Linked DNA regions of Homo sapiens: region 2 is linked to region 1. The links are contacts of gene promoters, found by promoter capture Hi-C in blood cells and fetal thymus (Javierre and others, 2016). All regions are on one chromosome and are shown on one strand. The core of a region is centred on a gene start or on the middle of the fragment in contact, and the rest is flanking DNA. Distances in the headings are between cores, read along the strand shown.

Region 1 (4,147 bases), core at 562-3,061:
AATTGAGATAATGTATACGTCCTGGCACATAATAAATTCTCAATAAATGTTAACTTTTTTTTTTTTTTTTTTGAGACGGAGCTTTGCTCTTGTCGCCCAGGCTGGCGTGCTGTGGCACGGTCTCGGCTCACTGCAACCTCCTCCTCCCAGGTTCAAGTGATTCCTCTGCCTCCGCCTCCTGAGTAGCTGGGATTATAGGTGCCCGCCACCACACCCAGCTAATTTTTGTAATTTTAGTAGAGACAGGGTTTCACCATGTTGGCCAGGCTGGTCTCGAACTCCTGCACTCAGGTGATTCGATCACCTCGGCCTCCCAAAATGCTAGGATTACATGCGTGAGTCACCATGCCCGGCCAATAAACGTTAACTTTTAAGGTCCTGTTCCTGAGACTGCAAGGCCAGGACCAAACTATGGATTATCAAGGTAAATGATATCTAGTCAATGAGCCTACCTCCTCAGAGTGACATCCTCTGCTTCTGTATAGATCACCTTGACATTTCAAACAAGTCACAAATACTTATAATAGTCTCACTTATTTACATATATCTGAGACATACATATTTACTGAATGTTTCCCACAACCCTAAGAGGTAGGTACTAGGAGTATCCCCATTTTACAGATGAAGAAACTGAGGCACAGAGGGGCTAAATAATTTGTCCAGTGAGTAAAAGATGGCTCTGATTTTGTGTTAACTATCTTTTTATTTACTTATTAAACTACCTCTTCTTTCTTATAATCATATCATTAAAGAATGGGTATTTTGCAGTGAGAAAGGGATCCACAACTCACTTTTTCTGTCATCTGTAACAATGTTTTTAAAATGTACTTTCTGCTTAATGAGCTTTGAATCCATCCACAAATACATCAAGTAGCTATACAACGTGGTGGGAAACTTTGTTATTTGCAAATGATAAAACCAAACACAAGGTTGTTCACCAGCTATTACGTAGCAGGCATCACAGAGTACACCTGTAATAGTGCTTTTCCATTACTGAAATTTCAGTACTGGCTCATCTGTTCTCTTGTTTCAAAAATCCAGAAGATGGGAACAAATTTATAAAGACACTTCACAAGGTTATTTATATCTATAAAACCGACTAAGCATGCATTTATTAAGCCCCCAGGTGTTGGGATTGTACTTGGCGAACATCTAAGGCAGTAAAATTACCTTTTCTGTGGTATTCTAGGGTCTACAGGAGCTTTTTTATTTTTGTTTTGAGATGGAGTTTCACTCTTTTGACCTGGCTGGAGTGCAGCGGTGCGATCTCGGCTCACTACAGCCTCCATCTCTCGGGTTCAAGCGATTCTCCTGCCTCAGCCTCCCGAGTAGCTGGGATTACAGGCGCCCGCCACCATGCCAGGCTGACTTTTTTGTATTTTTAGTAGAGACGGGGGTTTCGCTTTTTGGGCGGGCTGGTCTCGAACTACTGACCTCAAGTGATTCGCCCGCTTCGGCCTCCCAAAGTGCTGGGATTACAGACGTGAGCCACCGTGCCCGGCCACAGGAGCTTTTTAGAAGATGTTTTACGCCACACAGTAATGCAACACTGAAAAGACAAGTCGCCTTTTCTCTGCTTTTGCATCTCTTTCCTTAACTTCTGGAAATCTTTAAAGTTTGTCCGCCGTACTTCGACAGTTGTCTACCGAAGATTCTCAGCACATCTACCGGCTGAGCCCTGAATGTGTCTCTGAATTTCTCCCGTTGAAAGTCGAGGTCCCTGGGCTGGGCAGAATCTGGGCATGCGCAGAAGCTCAGCCAACCCCGGGGCTCCGCCTCCCCTCCTCTAGCGAGGGGAAACGGGTGAGCGGCAGCGCGCGTGCGCAAGCTTGGTGGTGGGTTGCGCCTGCAGAGCGCATGGGCAGATAAACCGTACGTCCGTTTGTCCGGACCGGAGGGGCAGTGGGCGCCATCTTCTTCTGGGCTCACTGAGGGTCTACCTGTTTTGGGGAGGCTGCTGCGACGAAGAGTTCCCTCAGCCTCCGGCCTTGTGTGTCCGACTCGGCAGCAGTGGTGTGTGTTTATTGCCAAGTGCGAAGCAGTTCCCCTCGGGGCGCCGGGGGTGGGGAGGGCTGGGCGACCAAGCCGGAAGAACGGGGAAAGGCGGGACCGGCGGCCGCGCCAGTATCTAGCGTAGCTCCTGCCGTTAGGGCACCCTCTTTTCTTGCTAAAACACCGACTCTTCCTTTCCCGTCAGCTTCCATGTGGTGGTGTATGTGCGCTTCCCAGGGATCTTGAGAGTGAAGATCTCGAAGGATTTCATAGGTATATTTTTTTCTTTGCTATGTCATCGTAGTCAGTGGTGGCAGAAAAGCGCTGCAGGCCCAGCTCGTTAGGCTTGAGAAGGGCAAGTGTTTTCAGTTAGATCTGGGGGCAGTTCACCCTCTGGCGAGTTAGGGTGGAATGTTTGCCCTTGAGACGGCGTAACGGAAAGGCACGGAGGTTGGGCGGTCCAGGTTAATTTGAAGGCTGATTTTGGCTGAAAGTCTGGCGACAACATCGGATCCCACGTAGCAACTTTGGCCTGGCGCGAAAGAAGGAAGCTCTGACCCCTGGGAGTTGTGGACAAAGGCTTTGGGCTGTAGAATCGATGCCTTCGGATGATTCCCGTTTGAGGATGTTGGGAGAAATCCTGTGCCATGTGGATTCGTCTTCATTTACAGTTCTTCCTAGGGACTGTGGCTCTCATTGGTCATTCCTTTGGTTTTTATTTTAAACATCTACATTATAAAAGGTGGATCATCGTAAAGAATAATTATGGGTTGGTGTAGATTATTTTCTGCAGGGGAAACTCACGTTTAGAGTGTGAATATGCTACATCATGACCTTGGGCTTTACGAAGTAGTCGCAGAGTTAAAAAAAATTCTCTCCCTCACCATATCTGGAAAATGACTTTTTCTTCGCTAGTTAAAAATCAAATGGATCTGATGAGATATTACTTATTTAAATTCTGTCTCCCTCCCGTTTCCCTCTCTGTATCCCCTTAAGTCTTGATTAGAAGAGGCACGTTACGTATTGTTTAGTTATAATGGTGATTAAGTGGGATGAATCGTTGGATAAAAATAGCAGTTATTTAAAATGCGCTTTAAATTTCACTGACTTAAGTGATCTTTTAGGGACCCACTCTTCTTTTCATAGAAATTTTAACAGATTATTGTCTTCAAATGAACACAAAGGCACAAAAATACTTTTTGCATTCATAACTAGAAAAACGCAAAATTTTAATTGCAGACTACTTGAGGGTAATTTTCGTGTTTTGCTTTTGTGTAATTTAGTGTGTTAAGAGTTGAATTTCTGGAGAATTTGCTTAAGGAAATATAGCATGTTGGAACCACAGAAGTGCCCATTTTGAGAGCTGGTCTCTTACAGTTGGTCTCCAAGGTGTGTTATTGTAGAGGCATAAATGGTACATTACCCTACTGTCTCAAGGGTAGAGAAGTTTAAGCATTAGTTTTGTTTAACTGTGGCAAATGAGAATAAACTTTCTAAATAGTCTGCTTGAATTGGAATTCATGAGATTTGTGCTCATGAAACTACTTGGTTAAAAGATAGTTTTTAAGTGAGGTAGGATAAATTACTAGAGTTTTTTTGAATTTGAGATATAATTATTCCTTGAAACGTCTCTAATTTCTCTTGTAGATGAATTTATGTTCCCAGGGTAAATCCCGTTAAAATTTTTTTAAAAGCTTAGGAGAGACAAGAATATGTATAGCTTATGGTGCTTTCTAAAATATCTTAAAAAGAGTAGCTAAGCCAATTTGCATAGGAGGGAGTCTTGGGACTTTAATATGGATAAAGTAAGTATTCCAGAAGCCATTTGTAGTTTTTGTTGAAGTGTTAGTATGGATATTGGTTTGTTGAAGAAAATAGGCTTTTTTTCTTTTTTTGTTACTGTGCAAATACTTTAATAGCAAACCTGATTAATATTTTTCAGATGTAGAATGTGTGAAGTAATTTGATGTCTTTGCTAGTTTAGCTTCTGGTTAATCTACGTACCCTTTTTTAAAGGAAAACAGACCTCAGTGAATGTATCTTCAGACCCCCACTTTGGGGAACAGTGGTACTTAAGTGTAAGTACTGGATTCTGGATTAACGCAACATTTATTTGTACATTAAAGACATGTAAATTACTCCAGGCGCAGTGGCT
Region 2 (3,770 bases), core at 73-2,572, 1.1 Mb before region 1:
AATGAGTGTTACCACTAATTTGCCCTTCAAAAAACAGGAATTGTCACTCAGCTATGTAAGTAAAAGAACATTTGATAGTTTGCCTAGCACATACAGATGTTTTACAGGAGTTTTGTTTTCAGGTTGTATCATCCACCATGTTGCAAAAATCAGAAGTGTCATCAACAACTTTTAAACGGGTTCTGAAAGATTATGAGATACTACATACCAGTAACACTCCTATATGCAAGTTTCATCAGTGATTTTAAAATGTTACCAAGTATCCTGTAATCCCAGCACTTTGGGAGGCCAAGGTGGGAGGATCCCTTGAGCCCAGGAGTTCCGAGACCAGCCTGGGCAACATAGGGAGACCCTGTCTCTATAAAAAAAAAATTAAAATTTTTTTTTTTTACAAAAAGGGTTACCAAGTATCAATACTTCATTAACTCCTACTCCTGCTGCAAACTCCAGCTCATCAGGCCTTGAATAAATGATTACCTTCAGCTCTGGAAACAGCTAATCTGAAAACGCACCTTCCCAAAACTGTCATAACTATTTTTACCCCTTTCCAGAAAAGGAATTAGTGATAAAAGAAGCCATGCCAACTCATACGAATAAGGAAAGACAATACAGTTTAGAAGGTACAATCTTAGTAGCCCTCTCTAGACAATCACTGAATACTTTAAAATTTCTATTTTACTCAAGGTCCTACTCTGGAAAGTAAGACGCAGAACATATTAAAAAAAAAAGAGAGAGAGAGAGATGTCAAAGAGTTATAATCCAGTAGGGAAAAAGAAGACATAAACACACAAAGTAATATCTGACAACGGCCGGGCGCGGTGGCTCACGCCTGTAATCCCAGCACTTTGGGAGACCGAGGCGGGCGGATCACGAGGTCAGGAGATCTAGACCACGCTGGCCAACACGGTGAAACCCCGTCTCTACTAAAAACACAAAAAATTAGCCGGGTGTGGTGGCAGGCGCCTGTAGTCCCAGCTACTCGGGAGGCTCAGGCAGGAGAATGGCATGAACCCGGGAGGCGGAGTTTGCAGTGAGCTGAGATCATGCCACTGCACTCCAGCCTGGGTGACAGAGCAAGACTCCGTCTCAAAAAAAAAACAAAAACAAAAACAAATAATACCTGACAATAAGCATCAACTGAAAACTGTGAAAGGAACAAGGGGCCCAGAGTTATAGAAAGAGGGCAAACTTAAGATCCCTGAAAAGCTAGACACTCTCTCTTGAGGTCTAGATTTTTCAAAGTCTAGCATAATATTAGTTTTTATCTTCTTTTGGTCTGATCAGATTTCTGATAATATGAAAGAACTGTAAATCAATTACATATAACTGTATTCTCAGTACTTAAACTCTGTCTCCTAAATACAATCCGGAAACTATTTCAGAGACAACAGATGACATAAAATTTCTCTTCCATTTCTTTTAGAAAAATGTCAAATCTTATAAATGTATAAATTAAATACAATGCAGTTTTAATAGCATCTTAAGAGACAAAGGCAGAAATAAATTCTAATTAAAAATAGGAGGATGATCTCATATTAAGATTTTCCAAAAAATTGCCCTACGTAAATTAAGTATCAAATGAATACCTGGCACTGCATTTCTTCGGTTTTGACTTTCAATCCAGCAGTAGAACTCTCAGTTTCTCCATTTACCATGCCTGGTTCCATGGCCAATAAATCTAGAGTTCTCATCGTATGGACATAAAGATCCTTGTTTAATTTTAGGGCTGCTTCTAGTACCAAAATAGAATCAGCAGCTTGTTCTTTGAGCTACAGAAATCAATAAACAAATAAAAATACAAAAATAGCAACTGATTATAATAACCAAAAATATTTACAGTCTATTTAGTAACTCAGTACACTAAGCTATTAAAAAAATTTTTAACACAGCAAGAGTACAATTACATTTGTTGAAATAAAGTTACCTTAAATGAAGGGAAATAAGTTCCTATTGTGAGGTTAGAAAATATGAAAAACAGGAGGGCCAGGCATGGTGGCTCACGCCTATAATCCCAGCACTTTGGGAGGCCGAGGCGGGCAGATCACGAGATCAGGAGTTCGAGACCAGCCTGACCAATAGGGTGAAACCTCATCTCTACTAAAAATACAAAAATTAGCCGGGCATGGGGGCAGACGCCTGTAATCCCAGCTACTCAGGAAGCTGAGGCAGGAGAATTGCTTGAACCTGGGAGGTGGAGGTCGCAGTGAGCCAAGATCGTGCCACTGCACTCCGGCCTGGGTGACAGAGCGAAACTCCATCTCAAAAAAAAAAAAAAAAAGAAAAAGACAATACAAAAAACAGGAAAGACTGGTATCTTTTTTCTGTAGAAAAGTTGATACTTTAGGCCAGGGGCAGTGGCTCACACCCGTAATCCCAACACTTTGGGAGGCCAAGCGAGGCAGGAGGATCATCTGTGGCCAGGGGTTCGAGACCTGCCTGGCCAGCATGGAGAAATCCTGTTTCTACTAAAACTACAAAAATTAGCTGGCCATGGTAGCATACACTTGTAATCCCAGCTACTAGGGAGGCTGAGGCACAAGAATTGCTTGAACCTAGGAGACAGAGGTTGCAGTGAGCTGAGATCATGCCACTGCACTCCAGCCTGGGTGACAGAGTAATATTCTGTCTAAAAAAGAAAAGTTAATGCTTTAAAGATTTAGCTGGTGGCCAGGCACGGTGGCTCACACCTGTAATCCCAGCACTTTAGGAGCCCAAGATGGGCAGATCACGAGGTCAGGAGTTCAAGACCAGCCTGACCAACATGGTGAAACCCCATCTCTACTAAAAATACAAAAATTAGCCAGGCATGGTGGAGCACGCCTATAATCCCAGCTACCTGGGAGACTGAGGCAGAAGAATCGCTTGAACCCGGGAGGCAGAGGTTGCAGTGAGCTGAGATCGCACCATTGCACTCCAGCCTGGGCAACAGAGCAAGACTCCATCTCAAAAAACAAAAAAGATTTAGCTGGACACAGTGACTCATATATGTAATACCAGCACTTTGGGGGTCCGAAGTGGGTGGATCGCTTGAGTCCAGAAGTTCGAGACCAGACTGAACAACATGGCAAAATCCCATCTCTACAAAAAATACAAAAATTAGTCTAGTGTGGTGGCACATGTCTGTAGTCCCAGCTACTGGCAACACTGAGGTGGGAGGATCGCTTGAGGCTGGGAGGTGGAGGCTGCAATGAGCCAAGATCAGGCCACTGCACTGTAGCCTGGGCAACAGAGTCAGACCCTGTCTAAAAAAGAAAAAATTTGCACTGTTCCACTTGATTTATTCAAGAAATATCTGTATACTTCAATGTGCCAGTCATTTTATTAGGAACTAGATAACAACAATGAAATGATGTAGGCTTTGGCTTCCACATTCAAAATATTACAGCATATTTGCTATAGTGAGATACAGATCGTTTCTTACCTTTTTCTCTCCTCACCCAGCCCCTACACCTCACATGGTAATATGGAACATTGTAGGTGTTAATTACAGAAATCATTTCTAAATTATAGAAACTGTCAGGTTTCTAATTTTCCATTATGTAGATCAATTAAAAAATAACTGCTAGGCTAGGTACAGTGGCTCACACCTGTAATCCCAGCACTTTGGAAGGCCAAGGTGGGTGGATCACTTGAGGTCAGGAGTTCGAGACCAGCCTGGCCAACACGGTGAAACCCGTCTCTACTAAAAATACAAAAAATTAGCTGGGCATGGTGGCAAGTGCCTGTAATCCCAGCTATTCAGGAGGCTGAGGCAGGAAAATTGCTTGAAG

The links. Contacts are between HindIII fragments. The CHiCAGO score rates a contact against its expected background, and 5 or more counts as called.
Region 2: a fragment that was not itself captured here is called in contact with the fragment with the promoter of RBM12B-DT in region 1 in 2 of 17 cell types (naive CD4 T cells and total CD4 T cells); the score reaches 6.4 in naive CD4 T cells.

Annotation. Positions count from the first base shown.
Region 1 is chr8:93,738,747-93,742,893 of GRCh38, reverse strand. It overlaps RBM12B-DT (RBM12B divergent transcript), which reads right to left and starts at 1,811. Exons shown (of 2, transcript NR_183450.1): 1 at 1,435-1,811. It overlaps RBM12B (RNA binding motif protein 12B), which reads left to right and starts at 1,885. Exons shown (of 4, transcript NM_001377960.1): 1 at 1,885-2,013; 2 at 2,198-2,265. RBM12B-AS1 (RBM12B antisense RNA 1) reads right to left here and starts at 2,783. Exons shown (of 1, transcript NR_027259.1): 1 at 2,075-2,783. RefSeq lists an enhancer at 1,859-1,978. The HindIII fragment of the contact is 3,775 bases long and covers 1-1,830 here.
Region 2 is chr8:94,829,991-94,833,760 of GRCh38, reverse strand. INTS8 (integrator complex subunit 8) reads right to left here. Exons shown (of 27, transcript NM_017864.4): 6 at 1,587-1,769. Among named protein-coding and RNA genes, the nearest start is that of INTS8, 8.6 kb to the right of the region's middle. The HindIII fragment of the contact is 5,843 bases long and covers 1-3,770 here.